Linked DNA regions of Homo sapiens: all the other regions are linked to region 1. The links are contacts of gene promoters, found by promoter capture Hi-C in blood cells and fetal thymus (Javierre and others, 2016). All regions are on one chromosome and are shown on one strand. The core of a region is centred on a gene start or on the middle of the fragment in contact, and the rest is flanking DNA. Distances in the headings are between cores, read along the strand shown. Region 1 holds the start of ERCC8 (ERCC excision repair 8, CSA ubiquitin ligase complex subunit). Region 2 overlaps ZSWIM6 (zinc finger SWIM-type containing 6). Region 3 overlaps ZSWIM6 (zinc finger SWIM-type containing 6). Region 4 overlaps ZSWIM6 (zinc finger SWIM-type containing 6). Region 5 has its middle 15 kb from the start of ZSWIM6.

What was found. The method cuts DNA at HindIII sites, captures the fragments that hold promoters and counts their contacts. A CHiCAGO score of 5 or more calls a contact.
Region 2: a contact is called between a fragment that was not itself captured here and the fragment with the promoter of ERCC8 in region 1, in 5 of 17 cell types (activated CD4 T cells, total CD8 T cells, non-activated CD4 T cells and 2 more). The highest score is 7.3, in activated CD4 T cells.
Region 3: a fragment that was not itself captured here is called in contact with the fragment with the promoter of ERCC8 in region 1 in 1 of 17 cell types (total CD4 T cells); the score reaches 5.9 in total CD4 T cells.
Region 4: a contact is called between a fragment that was not itself captured here and the fragment with the promoter of ERCC8 in region 1, in 7 of 17 cell types (activated CD4 T cells, total CD8 T cells, total CD4 T cells and 4 more). The highest score is 10.1, in activated CD4 T cells.
Region 5: a contact is called between a fragment that was not itself captured here and the fragment with the promoter of ERCC8 in region 1, in 2 of 17 cell types (non-activated CD4 T cells and activated CD4 T cells). The highest score is 5.9, in non-activated CD4 T cells.

Annotation. Positions count from the first base shown.
Region 1 is chr5:60,943,391-60,946,924 of GRCh38, forward strand. It overlaps ERCC8 (ERCC excision repair 8, CSA ubiquitin ligase complex subunit), which reads right to left and starts at 1,680. Exons shown (of 12, transcript NM_000082.4): 1 at 1,542-1,680. The coding sequence starts at 1,618. It overlaps NDUFAF2 (NADH:ubiquinone oxidoreductase complex assembly factor 2), which reads left to right and starts at 1,815. Exons shown (of 4, transcript NM_174889.5): 1 at 1,815-1,992. The coding sequence starts at 1,866. RefSeq lists an enhancer at 2,451-2,580. The HindIII fragment of the contact is 6,619 bases long and covers 1,479-3,534 here.
Region 2 is chr5:61,415,126-61,418,659 of GRCh38, forward strand. The region is part of intron 1 of ZSWIM6 (zinc finger SWIM-type containing 6); the gene reads left to right. Among named protein-coding and RNA genes, the nearest start is that of ZSWIM6, 85 kb to the left of the region's middle. RefSeq lists enhancers at 467-1,093, 1,094-1,721, 1,722-2,348. The HindIII fragment of the contact is 1,578 bases long and covers 1,174-2,751 here.
Region 3 is chr5:61,396,460-61,399,993 of GRCh38, forward strand. All of the region lies in intron 1 of ZSWIM6 (zinc finger SWIM-type containing 6), which reads left to right. Among named protein-coding and RNA genes, the nearest start is that of ZSWIM6, 66 kb to the left of the region's middle. The HindIII fragment of the contact is 7,030 bases long and covers 1-3,534 here.
Region 4 is chr5:61,338,084-61,341,617 of GRCh38, forward strand. The region is part of intron 1 of ZSWIM6 (zinc finger SWIM-type containing 6); the gene reads left to right. Among named protein-coding and RNA genes, the nearest start is that of ZSWIM6, 7.6 kb to the left of the region's middle. The HindIII fragment of the contact is 648 bases long and covers 1,446-2,093 here.
Region 5 is chr5:61,315,493-61,319,026 of GRCh38, forward strand. No RefSeq gene overlaps it. Among named protein-coding and RNA genes, the nearest start is that of ZSWIM6, 15 kb to the right of the region's middle. The HindIII fragment of the contact is 168 bases long and covers 1,573-1,740 here.

The DNA.
Region 1 (3,534 bases), core at 430-2,929:
GCATAAAAGTTTGCTACTAGCTTTTCAGTTCACAAATCATTACATAAATAACATATGAATCAAAATTGACCAATTTGCAATTTTACTTCTTTCAAAGTCTATGGGTGATTGGTCACTGTGCATCTGTTATTCAGTTCACACACAGGCTGCAAAGCATGGAGGTTTGTTATTAATATTTCTGTGCCCTTGAGATAAACCCACATGGAATTTTACAGATTAAAAGAGGAAATTGGCCAAAAGAATGAAAGTGCACTAAAGAAGAGTGATAATACTAGAAGTGAAACTTGCATTAAACATAAATGGAGCAAATGAAAAAAAAGCTGCCTGTGGGAACATGCTGATTGTGGCAACAATGACACTGCCGCCATTTGAGACATTCTAGATATGCAGACTGAGGAAATCAGTGAAGGTGAACTTATAGACATAAATGAGGAAAAGTGATTGTGATGAAAGGCTGATGATGTGTCAGAGGAAGTGACACTGGCAAAAAAAACACATTAAAGGAACTCTCAGAGATATTTCACAACATTGAAAACGTAATGGATAAAATGTTGGAAACTAATATTTAAATTTCTCCAGAACGCAGAACTCATAAGCAACTGTGTTCTCCAAGTAAATATCTTCACAGGTTCCTCAATTAATGTGGGCAAAATTAAAAGTACAACTTGCTTCTTCCCTTTGGAAAACCCTCTCTCAGAGTATATTACCAACATTCAACTTCTTATACAAGGCATAGATCTGGGAATCATTATTCATTCTTCTCTTTTTGTCATTCACGTATCCACTCAATTTCCATGGCCTGTTGATTCTATTTCTCAGACGTTGTTCAAATCTCTCCACTATCTTTATTCTACTTGGCAACTCTGTGGCCCAGGCTTCCAACAACTCTCTCCCGGACAAGTGTAATCACAACAGTTACCTAACTTGGCTCCCACTCTTGTTCTCAGTTGCAACCCATTCTCCAAGCAGAAAACAAAATGCAATAGCTGTTACCTTATTCTCATCTTCACACCTCTACTCAAGTACACAAGGCTCTTCCTCATCTAGTTTCTGTCTACTTCATCTCTTGTCAATGGTCCCTACCCCAATTCTCCGCTCTAGTCATTCTGAACTTTGTTCAATTCCTGGCCTGTGTCCTCTGCCTTTAATAGGCTGCCTGGCACACTGTAGGAATTCACTAAATATGCAGACTGAATGAATGAACGAGTCCGTGGAGGGCAGTTATTCTTTGGAGTAACTTAAGAGAGAAGGAATACAGTACAACGAAGTATTCTTATTTAGGTTTATAGTGTCTTCACCTGAGCCCGCGGGGGAACCCCCCCCCCACCCCCGGGGAACCCCCCCCACCCCCGCCGCCCCCCGCCTGCAAGTTGTTACCAGTAAATAAAAGGGATCCTATTTTAGCAAGCCACACAGCATTAGAGGGCAAATAATAGTTTGGTGGCAGGAGAGCGATGAGACGGGAAAGTGTGGGGCAAAGCTTACAGTCATTGGTCCAGATTCTAACTGGCCTGTTAGCCAAAAAGTAAGGTTTTCTTTACCTCCGTGTTGACTCTGCTCTCCGAAGGCGAAGAGGGTCCTCCAAACCCGTTTGGCGTGCGGACAAAAACCCCAGCATATCGTGTCCTCACACCGGCTGGAGCACTGGACGTCGCCATGACAGAGCTCAGGGGCGGGACTGGAACAGCAGAGTCTCCCATTGGTCAGTCGGTGATATATCCGGCCAATGGTGAGCGCCGTTACTAGAAGGGCTCCAGGATGGAGGCCGACCTGACTTCTCCGCCTCGGTGGGCTGGGTCGGCGGCTGGAGCATTACCCCTACTGCGGGTCCCGCTGCTGGCAGCGCTGGAAACTGGGTGGACGGCATGGGTTGGTCTCAGGATTTGTTCCGCGCCTTGTGGAGATCGCTGTCAAGGGAAGTGAAGGAGCACGTGGGCACGGACCAATTCGGGAACAAATACTACTACATCCCGCAGTACAAGAACTGGAGAGGTGAGGTGGCGGCGTGGGCAGCGATTGCGTGGTCAGTGATTGCGAGGTCAGTAAAGGAGGGAAAAGTGAGAGCCCCTAGTCAACTAACGCATCATGCGACACTTAGGGTGTCACCGGAGAGAATTTCCCGAGTTCGTTCTCCCCTGTCGACCCCTTCACTCTGGCATCGGAGCCCTACCCGGCCCGGCTCTGGGCGCCTTGGCCCGGCCTCGTGCGTCCGCGGTCCCTACTACCCAGCGCCTTCCCCCGGCGTGCCCCGGGCTGCTTGCGCTGTTAAGGCGCACCACCACTTTCCTCCCAGCCACGCCTGTAGAGGAGCCTCAGTTTTAGCCCTGGACTGGCGACGGAGGCAGGGAAAAGTCCACGGAAATCTTTCACCAAAGGGGCTAGAAGGGCCAGGGGAGGGGTTTTTCGTACGCTGTTCCCCGCCTTGTGACCCAGAGCTGAGTGGTGTAATTGAAGAGGAGTATCTTCAGCGCCTCGGCTGTCTTCTTTCTTGGTGTTTACCCTTTTCGGTGGCACCCTGGCTCCGGCGCTGGCCCCATGCGCCTTCCTTACTACCAAGACTTGTCAGAAGTAGGTCCATATCCCCACAAGGCTCGCTGATTCCTTTCTCGGGAGTTGACATTCCAAGACCCCGTTGAGCTCAATTTAAGAAACGTGGCAATAATCATGGTGTTACTGTGTAGGATTCGTGCCAAGTAGTTGAGCGGGTTGTTTGGGGAGTAAGGAGGCGTTGCTGTCCATTGAAATCACACTGTGTAGCCGCCGTCGTAACCTCTTCTGTGTTGTTCCATCGCCGCATGCAGAAAATGTCAGGTTTTGGGCGAAGAGGCGTGGGTTAGAATCTCAGCTTTGACACCTGATAGCTCGGGAATCACGGAAAAAGTACTTGTCCTCTCCAAGTCTCAACATCCTCACTTGAAAGTTAGAGATAATATAAGATCAGCAATGTTGAGAAGCACTAAGACCTTTCCAAGATTATGTGCCATTCATTTCCCACACATATAAAATGTATTCTGTGATTTATCACTCAATTAATTTATTTTTGCCTGGCCTTTTTCTGTAACTTATTTTAATATTTAGACTTGTTTCCCTAATGAGCTCCTCTGTCAGGCAGGGAATATGTCTCACAAAAAAAGAAAAAAGCCTGCAAAGAACATAGCATGGTGTTAAGTATTTCTTGACAGGTTGCAAGCAGAGAGATGTTTCTTTTCCATAAGTTGTCAGTAAAATTAAAAATATGCAAACTGTCAGACTGAGTTTTTTTAAATTGAAATATAATTTACATACAGTAACATTCACCCTTTATGGTGTACAGTTTTATTGTTTTTGACAAATGAGTAGAGTAACCTCACTGGATTCAAGTAATAGAATAATTCCATCACCATCAGAATTTCCTCCAACTCCTTAGTAGTTCATTCCCACACCCTTTGGCAACTACTGATGTGTTTTATGGGCCTATAGTTTTGTCTTTTCTAGAATATCATATAAATGGAATTATACAGGATTTAGACTTTTGAGTCTGGCTTGCTTCACATA
Region 2 (3,534 bases), core at 713-3,212, 470 kb after region 1:
CTAATAGTTTTGTTTTTGCAGTCTTTTCGGGAATGTGGTGGAGTTCAAGTAGGCTTTTGCATGTTAGTTTATGATCGAAAATGTATGAAGTAGAGCCTAGAAAGTAATTTAGAGATATTTCATATATCAAGAAGGGAGTGTTATTTTGATGTATGACATAGGAATATTTAGGATAAAAACCCTTGGGCTGGGCGCAGTGGCTCATGCCTGTAATTCCAGCACTTTGGGAGGCCGAGGTGGGCGGATCACCTGAGGTCAGGAGATCGAGGCCATCCTGGCCAACATATTGAAACCCTGTCTCTACTGAAATACAAAAATTAGCCGGGCGTGGTGGCACGTGCCTGTAATCCCAGCTACTCGGGAGGCTGAGGCAGGAGAATCGCTTGAACCAGGGAGTCACAGGTTGCAGTGAGCCGAGATCACGCCACTGCACTCCAGCCTGGGCGACAGAGTGAGACTCTGTCTCCAAAAAAAAAAAAAACGCTACTGATTCCTATGTAAGAATATGTTTGTGTGTTGGGATGGATATGACATGGGGACTGATTGGCCATATAAAGGTTCTGGGCCCCATTTCTCTACAGTTCACAAAGGGCACAGTTAAAAAATGGCATAACCAGTCAACTACAGGCCACTTAGTATCTGCTGCTGGATGAGCTCAAGTTAGTTAATGTATATGCTGCATTCTACCTCAGAAGGAATAATTGGATCTTTAAAACTTTAAAAAAGATTTTTGGTTTGTTTTAAACAACTGAGAATGTTAAGGACAAAAAAGACTTCATGAAACATTTACCAATGAAAGGTAATGGGAGCTTAAGTTATTCAAGATAAGTTTATCAGGGCTTAGAATACCAGCAATCTGATGTTACTATAAAACCAAAAGTGTGGATCGTAATCTAAATCTAACCTTCTTACATTTGTGTTGGGTGAGGAGTATGCAGAGTCTAGGAATCACTGGATACAAAAAGGGTTATATGGAAGTGTTCTCTTTGCATGTGAGTTTGTGGAACGAATGGCATTCCTTTGTTGCTGAATTAATCCAGATTCTTGGAAGGAATAGAGAGGAAGGAGGCAGAAAGGCCGGTTTTCACAGTGTTGTTGTACCTGCTGATAACTCACCAAGGCCCTGTTAAGATGAGTCAATTCTAATAACTCTTGGGATTTCCCTACTAGTGAAGCTTCTTTTACAGCTTCATCTCCCCCTCCTCCCGCAGAAACGATGAGACTTCTTGAAATTTTTAATAAGAATTTTAGACACTCTAGCAGTAGTTTCCAGGAGCCACAGCCTCTGATATCATGCTGCTTTTGATCTTCCTCCTAGCTGATTATATCACCTGTTAGAGCTTATACACCTCTGATCTCCTCCTGGGGGTATGATAGAATCCTGTTTCTTGATTCTCTCAGAAGTGATGAGTGACCAGCAGGCAGGCTTTTTAGCCAGGTGCTTAGGACCTCATGCCAATGAGATGAATCAAAGGTTTGATCCCTGTAGGTCCATCCCTCTTGGAGTGATTTAGTTTAGCTCTGCCCCTTCCTTTGGCCTCACGCAGTGCACTAGCCCCAGCTAGCTGCCTTGCCAGCAACCACCATTAGATTGCAAGACAGAATTGAAACACAAATAAGTTGCTAAGACTAGAAAACACAAAGCCTATTTGAAAGAACAGAAGTTGAGGAAGGTAGACAGGGAATGAATGAGAAGTATGAACAGAAAGACAACAAAATAGTGCATAAGGCCGGGCACAGTGGCTACGCCTGTAATCCCAGCACTTCGGGAGGCCGAGGCAAGGTGGATCACCTCGGTCAGTGATCAGGAGTTTGAGACCAGCCTGACCAACATGGTGAAACCTCATCTCTACTAAAAATACAAAAATTAGCCAGGCGTAGTGGCACATGCTTGTAATCCCAGCTACTCGGGAGGCTGAGGCAGGAGAATTGCTTGAACCCGGGAGGTGGAGGTTGCAGTGAGCCGAGATTGTGTCATTGCACTCCAGCCTGGGCAACAAGAGCAAACTCCGTCTCGAAGAAAAAAAAAATAAAAGCGCATACCTTTGTTAGCATCTGCCTGTAGACTAATGGAAATTAGGTTGGAACTGTAGTTGCAGAAATGAAAAGGACTTTGAGTTCACAAAGGAGTTCACTGCCTATATCTGTTAGAAGATCCTGCCTCAATATATATTATCTACATTAAACAGGTTTAGGAGATTATTAAATGAAAATCACTCAAGCGTGCCAACTAAAATTATTCAAGTTCAGTTTCAAAGTGGATTTTTTTAGTATAAATAGATGCAGGTTCCCAAAGAAGCCTTCAAATGGGTAGAAATGCTGTTTTTTCTTTTCCTATGGGTACTGTTTTTAGGTATGGTTAGAGGACACAGTTTCAGAACTGTAGAACACAGTAATTAGAAAGGCTGCCTAAGGGGCTGTGTGGATTGTGTGAGTAGAGTCTGAAACATAAATGAAAAGCAAAAGCTAATCAAAAGAGGTTCATGTTAGCATGTGCTTTTCTTGGTGCTCCATCATTACTGTAGCTAATCGGATCCTTACCACTGAAGTGCATACTTTTAAATTTGTACAGTTAAGGACTTTTGTTTTGAAATACTATAAGCGAATGCATGTCTTTTTCTATATTTAAATAACTGATATACTCAAGAGTTTTGGAGAATGGGTAGATTGTTTATCTGTGAATTTTTAAAGCAGATTGTACATATCACAGTTTTGCTTCATAAGCAAACTGTGTGGTTTTTCTTATTAGGAAGCTTCAAGAAAGACCTTGAAACCAAGTGAAAACCATTGAGGATATCACAGGATGGTAGAGTTTTAGAATTCGAAGGTACTTTATTGGTGATCTAATCAGTCCATCAATTTACATATGAATAACTGAGGCAGTGAGAAATTAAGTGGTTTGCAGAGGTCTAAATATCTAGTAGTGGGAGAATCAAAACCAGGACTACAGGCTTTTAACTTGCAGTCCAGTCCTTTTATCAGCACCAAATATGGTGATTTGAATGTAGATTATGCTAAAGGAATGGGGAATGATAACTGCTTTGTTCATAGCACTCATAAAACCTATCCAGGGATTTTGAAAGGCTCAATAATTTTAACACAAAGAAGGATTCAATACAGAACTAGTCTATGATTTATTTATTTATTTATTTATTTTTTTGAGGCGAAATCTTGCTCTGTCGCCCAGGCTGGAGTGCAATGTTGTGATCTTGGCTCACTGCAACCTCCGCTTCCCGGGTTCAAGTGATTCTCCTGCCTCAGCGTCCGAAGTAGTTGGGATTACAGGTGCCTGCCACCACACCCGGCTACTTTTTTGTATTTTTAGTAGAAATTTTCAAGACCTGGTTGGTCTCGAACTCCTGACCTCAGTTGATCCACCAGCCTCGGCCTCCCAAAGTGCCGGGATTACAGGTGTGAGCCACTGTGCCCGGCCTACTCTATGATTTTTATTTAAATGAAACCTTCTAGTGACTATCTAGATGAGTGAGGGGTCAAGACACAGAAACAAATGTTTCCAAGGGAAGTGGTAGATGG
Region 3 (3,534 bases), core at 586-3,085, 450 kb after region 1:
GGCAGAGGTTGCAGTGAGCCGACATCGCGCCACTGCACTCCAGCCTGGTGACAGAGTGAGACTCTGTCTCAAAAAAAAAAAAAAAAAAAGAGAATTGAATGTTTTCATTCAAATGTGAATACAACATTGTATTTAACTTGGAAATTCTGAACAAATGTAAGATGGCAGTGTTGGTGGCAGATTCTTTTTTCAATGGCATAGTGTCATATTTTAGTTTCATTCATATTGGCCTGGTTTAAATAGTTTACCAAGGTTGGTGGGTTATCTACACTTTAAAATTAATTAAACATTTTAAAATTAAGTTTTTGGTTAAAATTTTTACCTGTTGCTAAATAAAAAATATACAGAAAACACAGATTTTTTTGGGAGAAAGGGGAGTTAAATGAATTATCCGTCTAATGTCTTCCAAATATTCCTTATTAAATTGTTGAAGTGGACATAGTTATTCTCTTAGGAGTATTATAAACATAATAACAATAAATTTGTTTGCCCTTACAGAGTTTAAAATGACTGTTACCAATTTACAGGTTAGGTAGGGAACTGCTTCTCAGAGAGGGTAATGACTTACCCATGATTGTCCCAATATTCAGCAGTAAGATGTGGTACTAGAACTAAGTTCTGTTGCCATATTGTCAATATTTGCCTGAATTTGTTTGTTGTATGAAATAACCAGGTTTTTCAGTTTTGGACATTGGTTTAGACTCAATCTAAAAACCATTAAATTAGTTCAGGCTGTACCTTCCTGTCCGCCAAAAACATTATCCCAGTTGTGTGTAATACTGTATATATATCTAAAACATCTTATACAAATGTTTTTATGTAATCAAAATGAGTTTTCTTAAATTTAAATACATTGGATTTACCACTGATAAATTAGATTTTAATCAGATTCACCTTGAGTGTTATATTAGGGAGTCAGTGAAGTGCCCCCAGGGGGTGGCAATCATGACTATAAATCCTCATTTCAGGAGAAAAATGGCAGTTTGTTTTTGTTGGTCTGCACGTGCTGTGAATCATCAGCCCTGCAGTAGGGTCCTCCAGGGACTGTGGCATGCACAGCCCATCAGTGACAGCCAAGTAGTTGTGAGTGACTTTTTTTTTTTAAGAGGCAGTTTACTTTGTTTTAAAAACATGAACCTTTAAAAGAATTCCAAAAGTAGCACACACATTGAAAATTATAATCAAACATACTAAAGGAAAATGTTAAATGACTCCTAAAATTTTAGCATAGAAGTAATCTTCACCTAAATTTTGAATTAAATCTTTTGTTGTGAGTGACTTCTGAAGGGGATGGAGTCCTTATTGCCTTTTTAGCTCACTAACTCCAAGTGTAGAGAATGGGCTTTATGGTCCAAATCTACTTAATCCACGTTGAGAGGGAACAGAAAAGGAGTTTGGTCGCAGTGCCTAGCACAGAAAGAAATGAAATTTACCTATTAATGTAACTATTAAGAGACTTCCCACTTTACCTTCAAAACAAAAGGAATATCATTTTCATGTCTATACTTAGTCTTCCCTGCTGTCCTGTAAGCCTCTGGTTGCAAAATAGAATCTCAATAGTATTTCAGAGAATGGGACTTCTTGCCATCTGATACCTGTGAAACTCTTAAGTGATCTTGGGCCCTGCTCTCTTGCTGTGGTTCCAGTTGAAGTGTGGAGTCTCACAGCAGGGGTCCCCAACCCCTGGGGCCATGGAACCCTACAGGTCCCTGGCGTTCTAGGAACTGGGCCACACAGCAGGAGGTGAGTGGCAGGCAATTGAGCATTACTGCCTGAGCTCCGCCTCCTGTCAGATCAGCAGAGATTCTGATTCTTATAGGAGGGTGAACCTTATTGTGAACTGTGTATGCAAGGGATCTAGGTTGCACACTCCTTATGAGAATCTAATTCCTGATGATCTGAGGTGGAACAGTTTCATCCTGAAACTATCCCCCTACCCCTAGTTCATGGAAAAATTGTCTTTCATGAATCGGTCCCTGGTGCCGAAAAGGTTGGGGACTGCCGCCTTTATAGCATCAGCTCTCCTTGAGCAACTAGCCAGGCAATGTTGTATAGTGTTTAAGATTTGGGAGCCTTAAGTTCTGCATTTGAATCCTGGTTCCAGCACTTAGTAACTCTTGACCCTGGGCAAGTAACTTAATCTCTTGGAACCTCGTTTTTCCTTATCTGTAAAATTCAATAAAATATTTATCAACGTGCTTAAAAAATGCATAGCACAGTATTGTGGTACCTGATTAGCCCCAGCAGAGGTTCATTACAATTTTGATTTTAGGATTAAAGTAAACATTGTATAATTTCAGTTCTGAGAATAAATTTCTCTGAGTTATGAAGCAAACTGAATTTGTGTACTGGTGTCATTAGGATGCTTTTTAGTGAGAGAAGGAAGGATGACCTTGAGCTTATGGCGGAATGGTAGGGCAGGGGGCTGAAGGAGAGCAAGTTGTGTATAGTTGTTTTTTTTTTTTTTTTTTTTTTTTTTTTGAGACAGAATCTCGCTCTGTCACCCAGGCTGGAGTGCAGTGGTGCGATCTCTGCTCACTGCAACCTCCGCCTCCTGGTTTCAAGTGATTTTCCTGCCTCAGCCTCCCAAGTAGCTTGGACTACAGACGCATGCCACCATGCCAGGCTAATTCTTGTATTTTTTTAGTAGAGACGGGGTTTCTCCATGTTGGGCAGGCTGGTCTCAAACTCCTGACCTCAGGTGATCCACCCGCCTCAGCCTCCCAAAGGGCTGGGATTACAGGTGTGAGCCACTGCGCCTGGCTGTGTATGTTTTTTTTTTTTTTTTTTTTAAAGATAATCAGTGTCTATTATTTGAAAAATGTGTTTTATTTGAAAACACTGAGTTTGTCTAATTATGGATTAAATCCTAATATGTGACTTCGTTGAGAAAATTACTAACATTGGCATTCCAGTTTGTCTCACATACTGAAATCTCCTCTTTATTTACCAGAACAGATTCCATCTCTGTCTTTTGACTGAAGTGAAAACATAAGACCTTCTTTTGCCTTTTCCACAATCTGTCAACACCTACTGAGTTGGACAGAAGGTTTAAGCACAGTGAGGCTTCATCTTCGTGTTCCTGAGGGACCAGAATCCTCTGGTTACAAAGCCCTCAGAGCTAAATTCTTAGTGGGGACACATGTACAGTATCAGTGTACATTCAGGGTTGGTGTTTCTTTGGCTATCTGAGTAACTTTGAACATTACAAAAAGAAATGAAAAACAATCAAAATCTCTTGTCCTAAACACTGTAATTGGTTTCTCCAATTTCTACTTCCCACGTCTGAATGAACTTGTAAGAAGAAAATACTTCCTCTGTAGGTGGCCTGGTCAGGTTGGCCTGATACCTGGAGTGAAAAGATTGGAACAGAGTAAAGAGCACAAATCTGGGACCCTGGAAAACTGCCCTCTGGTCCTGGTTTTGCTGTTTAATGATTGTTATAACTAAACAAGGCAGTTTGCAGATCTGGCTTTAGTTTTCCTACCTGTACACTCGGGGGTATAGATGATCTCCAGAATTACGGAATCACAG
Region 4 (3,534 bases), core at 520-3,019, 390 kb after region 1:
ATATCGCCCAGCATTCCACATAACATTCTGGTAAACACATTCTTACACTCTTTTCATATTCATAACTTAAAGTTTTGTGTGTTTTTTTTTTTTGTGGGGGTGGCAAAGCAGTAAAAGAACATTATTAGAATTAAGATGGGTACAAATTTCAGTCAGATAATTTATTGGTTTTTGAATATTTTGATTTTTCTTTACAGACTAGAGATCACTAAATAAAGACGATTCTGAATGCACATTGAAAATTGGATGCTTGTTTATTGATAGTACATTTCATTGAATGCTTTTTCAAGGTTAATATAGAATAATTTTATGTCAGATCCTACCCTTTTTCTGCCTTTTGATTAATGAAATACACAATACATTTTGAAACCAGTTGCATAGGTATTTTTTATTGTTCTTTTGTGTGAGTTGAGATGTTTGATTTATGTAAGTGATTTTTGAAAGTATTTCAGTATTTGATAGGTCCTTAGTGTTGTTCTGAAGGAAGTTAAATTTTCAGTTTTAGGAATACTTGGAATTTGTTATCATACTTAGTTCTCTGAAGGATAATATTGCTCCATTGAGAAAATCTAAAATGTTCAAGAGACAGTGACAATAATGGAAGGTGAAAATGGCGGATTTGGGTTAAGCAAACATTTTCATTCTTTTTAAAGTCTTTAATTTCTTGCAACTCAGTTGTGTTACAAGTACACCCTGGGATTGAAAAGGCTATCCTCATTATTTTTTTTCCACTTTGCATTGAGTTTCATCTATTTTGCGGTTGTGAGACTGATGCCTGCCTTTTTAGAAACATCAGGATGCCCTTGGAACATGTCCTTTAATAGAATTATTGCAATTAATTGAACAGTTTAAGTCATTATTGTTCTAAGTATGTCCTCACTGATTTTTAAGATTTTTATCCTGGGCCTCTTTTTTTTCCACAAAAATGGATAATCAATTGCTGTCTCAATTCTAACCCTATGAATGTTTCATATGGAAAGATATGGACCAGCATCTCTTTCTGCTTACACTCATATTCACGGTTAAGAATGTGTGATTTCAGCTAGTAATGTGTTCAGTAATAGGCAGTGTAGGAATGACATGTTTTGTTTTATAAGAGTTGTCCCTTTGAAAAATCACATGAGACCAGCCTGGGCAACATGGTGAAACCCTATCTCTACTAAAATGCAAAAATTAGCCGGGCGTAGTGGTACACCGCTGTAATCCCAGCTACTCAGGAGGCTGAGGCGGGAGAATCGCTTGAACCTGGGAGGTGGAGGCTGCAGGCTGCAGTGAGCCGAGATTGTACCACTGTACTCCAGCCTGGGTGACAGAGCGAGAACCTGTCTCAAAAAAAAAATCACATGACTGGATCTGTACTATTTCCACATGCTTTATATTTTTTTGTGTTAGACTGTAAATTTTCTTCACTGAGGCAAAATAAATTTGGTACCTTTATTTTAAGAAGCTTACTTACATATACATATGATAAAACAAACTCAGTGTTAGAAATTTTTATAGGGGCAATCATTAAACTCAAACTGTTGTTGACTTAAACTGTTATATTTAAGAGCACAAATATCCTAAAAATGAAAGATTATAGGTAACTATAAATATCTTAGAAACAAAGCGGGTTATAGGCAGGTCTTTTTAAAAAGGTAGTAAACAGTATGAAACCCACAAAACCGTTTTTAGCTACCTTTCAAATTACTGTGGTATAATTTTTAAAATAGTGCTTTGTCACAACAAAAAGGCTAATTTAGTTTTTGTGATTTATTAATTTTTTAACATGTAAATATTTGGGGATTACTTTAAATTCAAAACCACGAACTGTTTCCCTCTTTAAGTGCATGTGCTTTGAAAAAATCAGTATCAAATGATAATTTGGAGAAAAGTGTTACTGAGTCTTGTCTTGTGAAGAGACGTTTTGTTTGTCAATCCTACCCAGATCTCAAAAGTAAAGTGTGTCTGTTAGATAAAAACCTGGTTGTCTTTTCAGTTTTTGCTTTCAGTGCCCTGTGTTCCTCTAAGAATATGCTTTGTACTTGCTTTTCAGTTCTTTAAAAATAGGACATTTCCTTATTTTTTTTCATCTAGAAAAGATCCCTAAAGCAAGCTTCAGAGACAATACGGTGCAAAATTCCTTGTCATTTTGAACTTTCAGCTGACTGAAAGATTGACTTTCAGCTGATAGTAAACTGTTGCTTGAGTATGCTAAATGTTTTATGTCTGCGGAATTCGCTTAACTAATTTTGTGTCAGCTAATGTATGTGTGTATATATGTCTACAAATATATATATGTGATGATGTCCACAGGTGAACAGAAAAGGAGACAAATTAACCCAGGTGTAATTTGAATGTTGTAACCACATGCATATTTCAGTGACCCCTCTGTACAGATCCACAGTTCATTTCTTCTTAAAATATGCTGAAAGAGGAAAGGTATTTTTGTAAATAAAATACTCTTGCATTATAGTTGTTATCTACTAGTGGAGCTATGGAGATTTCAGAGATAAAAAGATAACTTCAATTTCAGTTTTTCCCATTTTCCTGGTAAGAAAACTGAGGCCCAAACTCGTTGAGTAAATTGTTTAGAGTGGCATAGGAAATGGCAAAGCCGTGTTGCTTATTTTTCCTACTGTTTGGGCCGTGTCTTAGTTTGGTAGTCTCTGAAATCAAGCATATTCTTGAATGTAACTTGAACTCTTTGGAGGGGTTATTTGGCTAACATTTATTGAATGTTAATAAATGTATTCCTAGATAGCATTTTAGTTTCAGGCTAAATTCTAATGGCTGCAGTGCAGTAGTGGTTCTAGCATGCTCAGTTCATGCTAGTGTAAAACATTTGTGGATATTTGGAAATCGTAGTAATGTTTGAGATTAAAGTTCAGAAAAAGGATTGTTAACTACAAAACTGTATTACAGCTGTGTGATTATACAGCAAGTCCTTGAATAACATTGTGTCACTATGTCATTGATGAGAAAATAAAAAAGTCAGTTCTGGCCAGGGCCATTATCTTGGGTGGAGTTTGCATGGTCGGCCTGTGTCTACGTGGGTTTTCTTTGGGTACTCTGGTTTCCTCCTACATCCCAAAGATGTGCACCTTAAGGCAAATTGTCCCATCTAAATGGCCCCAGTCTGAATGAGTGTGGGTGTGTGTGAGTGTGCCCTACAATGGGGGTGCATCCCATCCAGGGTGGGTTCCTGCCTTTCTCCCTGAGCTGCTGGGACAGGCTCTGGCCACCTGCTACCTTGAACTGGAATAACTGGGTGAAGAATTACCTTGTTTTTATTAATCGTCGTAAAATGTATGTACATCTCACATTCATTTCAATGTTTAATATTAGAAGTGTTGTGGTCTTTATTTAGAAGTTTGGTGATGTTTTTGTGACCAGAAATATGCCATAGGAAATTACTGTTTATGTCAATTAGCCTATGATAAATTGGTTTTGTAATATGTCATTTTGATTACAGTCATTTTCCGAGAACCTATTGATGGCATTAAGTGGAGGACTTGCTGTTACATGAATGTATACATATACCCATATAATAAA
Region 5 (3,534 bases), core at 407-2,906, 370 kb after region 1:
ATTCTGCTATTAATACTTGACTCTTCTTGCTTTATCACATATTTATACAGCCCTCCTCCATTAATTCATCTTATTTTTTCATGTGTTTAAAAGTAAATTATAGGCATCCACCAATTTCTACTTAAAAACTTCAGTTTGATATTTACTTTTTTCATTTGATATGAAATTTACAGATTTTAAACTGTAAACACTAAGTGTCCAGTTTCGGAGTTTTGACAAATATATCCCTGTGTGCCCAAACCCTTACTGAGATATAAAATATTGTCATCACCTGGGAAGGTCCCTCATTTATCTTTCCTGTCAATCCCTGTTCCTAATCCCTTTCCCAAACCCAGAGGCAACCACTGTTTTGATTTTTTTCACCACAGATTAGCTTTGTCTATTCCATAATTTCATATGAATGGGTCAAATAGGATGAATTCTTTGTGTAAGACTTCTTTCACTCAGCATAATCTTTTTGAGATTTGTTGACGTTATTGTGTGAACAGTAGTAGCTCATTCTTTTATACTGCTAAGTAGTATTCCATTGTATGACTAAACCACAGTTTGCACACTTATTTTCTCTCTCTCTCTCTCTCTCTCTCTCTATCTTTGAGATGGAGCTTCACTCTGTTGCCCAGGGTGGAGTGCAGTGGCGTGATCTCAGGTCACTGCAAGCGGGTTCAAGCGATTCTCTTGCCTCAGCCTCTTGAGTAGCTGGGATTACGGGCACTCACCACCACACTCGGCTATTTTCTGCATTTTTAGTAGAGACAGGGTTTTCACCAGGTTGGCCAGGCTGGTCTTGAACTCCTGACTTCAAGTGATCCGCCTGCATTGGCCTCCCAAAGTGCTGGGATTACAGCAGTGAGCCACCGTGCCCGGCCCCTGTGCATTCGTTCTCTTCTTGATGGATACCTGGGCTGTATTCAGTTTTTGACTATTACTTATAGAGCTGCTATGAACACTCTTATACAAGTATTTTGATAAACATATGTTTTCATTTCCCTTAGGAAAAGACCTACTTATGTAATTGCAGGATCACAGCTAGTATATATTTAGTTTCTGAAGAAAATGCTATTTATTTTTCCAAAGTTGATGTACCATTTTATGTTCATATCAACAATGTATGGGAGTCCCAGTTGCTCCCCATCTTTGCTGACATTTAGTGTATTCAGTCTTTATATTTTAAGCCATCCTGGCAGTAGTGATACTTCAGGTTTTAATTTGCATTTTCCTAATGACTAAAGATATTGAGCACGTTGTCATGTGCTTATCTGCCATTTATATATCTTCTTTGGTAGAGTGTCTTCCATCCATTCAAAAAATGTTTTCTCTTTATTAATAAGTGGGAGTCCTTTACATATCCTGGATATCAGTCCTCTGTCAAGTTTATGTTTTGTAAATAATTTCTTCCAGTCTATGTCTTGACTATTCATTTTTTAATGGTCTCTTTTCATGAGAGGTTTTTTATTTTGCTTAAATCTAATTTATCAATTTTTTTGTGGTTATTGCTCTAGGTGGCCTAAACAAAGCACATTGATATTAATAAATGGTGTTCACAAAATGTGTTGTAGGCTCAAGATAATCCAAAGCTTCACTGTGGTCACTGTAACAGAAGTATTTCCCTAAAGAAACTTCCATGTCCGTACATACTGGGAACAACTGAGGAAAACCTGGTGATCTGTTTACACTCTCAAGAGCATCCCAGAGAATGAATACAACTCTAGACCTCCCTTTTCACTTTGTTTTATAGTAAGAAGCTTTCTGTTTTGACGGCTGGAAGGAGTCGCCACAGGCAAAACTACCTGGTCATGGCCTTGTTCTGGAATCAAGTCAGCCTTTGTGCTTATAAGCAGGATAAAGTAGATTATTTTAATAATTCATTTTTAATCCATATTTTAATAAGCATATGTTATTGAGATCATACTTAAAATAGTTTAATATATGGCATGAATGAATAAAAATAGACTCCCCAGAAGCTTTAAAAACATTCAAAGAAAGAAATCCACAGAGAGACCCAGGTGTCAGTGATGACATGGGGCAAAATTAAGAGCAGATTGAAAGTGGGAATCGTCTGCTATGAAGAAAGTAGGACTTGGGAAAATAGAGCTCTACTGAAGGAATACAACGATTCTTTAGTGTTGTTTTTAGGCTACACATTGAAGGGTTTCCCAAGATTTTACCCTGGTCTCTTTGCCAACTGCTCTGCTTGTCAGTGAAGCTGTTTGATTTCTCTCTTTGTTTCTTGTTCGAACCAAAAGGACACTCAATACAGACATGACATTTTGAAAACTAAACTCACATCTTTTTCACCCTAACTTCATTGTTGTTTTGGCCTACTTTCTCTTAGACACTTTCTTGAGGGTTCAGGCTGAATGTGGTCTTTCAAACTTTCAAACTCCCTTGAGTACCTCTTTCTGTGATTCCATTCCTAGTGATCATTAATGGTCTGCAACTGCTTCTTTATTTGTGGGGTATCTCGGGCCTTTTGCTTCTTCGGTTTTCTACTTTTTATCATTAAAAATCCCCCCCCCCCTTTATTCGAGACTGATTTAGGAAAAGAAAGGGATGAAACTTAAATGAATGAACTGCTGTTTGATTGCAGGTTAAAATTAGTGGCCAAGTTTTTGTTTGTTGTTGATCTAGTAGACTTTTATAAACCAAAACTAACTGTATGATTCTCATTGGAAGTTATGTTGAAATATGAGATATGAAGAGAGTACCAATTCACAAAGCCCTGGACTGTTCTAACCCTAGGGAATACTTGATGGTGGCTGTGTGGGTGTGCCTGCCAGGCTGGGAAAGGATCTAGCGTAATGGTGAGTTTTGTAACACACCAGCCCAGGTCCAACTGCTTGAGTAGGAAGAGTAGAGGTAGGTGGTTAGTTTTGTGGCCTCCCGGATCTGTTCCTGAAGAAAGCAGATAAGTTCAGGAAGGGAGAAGTCTAGGTTCTAAGTTAGAAATGTCAAGTAGGACTTCGAGGCCTCTGAAATAAAGATGTGTCCTAAGTAACTAACACACAAACATGATGGAAGTAATCATACGGGAGAAACGAGTGGGGTTAAAATCACAGGGCCACATGACAAATTATGTCTGGCTATGCCAGTGGGTTAAATCACTTCCTAAGATGTTGCCAACAGCACAAATATCTGTATTTAGCATCACATGCAACCAAAGAATTAACCAAACATACTCTCCAAGTTTCTTCCCCTTTGGAATAGTAATTCCTGCTATTACAGTGTTTCCACTAAGGCACTGGAGGATCCAGGGCAAAGTCTAATTGTGGTGGGTTCCACTGGCCTGCAGTGTGGGCAGCATTAAGCGGGTACCCGAATGTGGTGGGGGAGGACTGTGAAGCTCTATTTTCTGTGCAGCTCTTCGGGAAGTCCTGTTGCCAGCCCTCCTCAAACATCATTTTCTGCTCATGAATATTATCTTTTATACCAATAGAGGTGGGAGGGGGAACTACCCAGAATTCAGTCTCAAAATCTTTTATCCTTTTCTCTCATTTACTTCAAAATGTATATAAAGTAAAATGCAGCACCCACCAA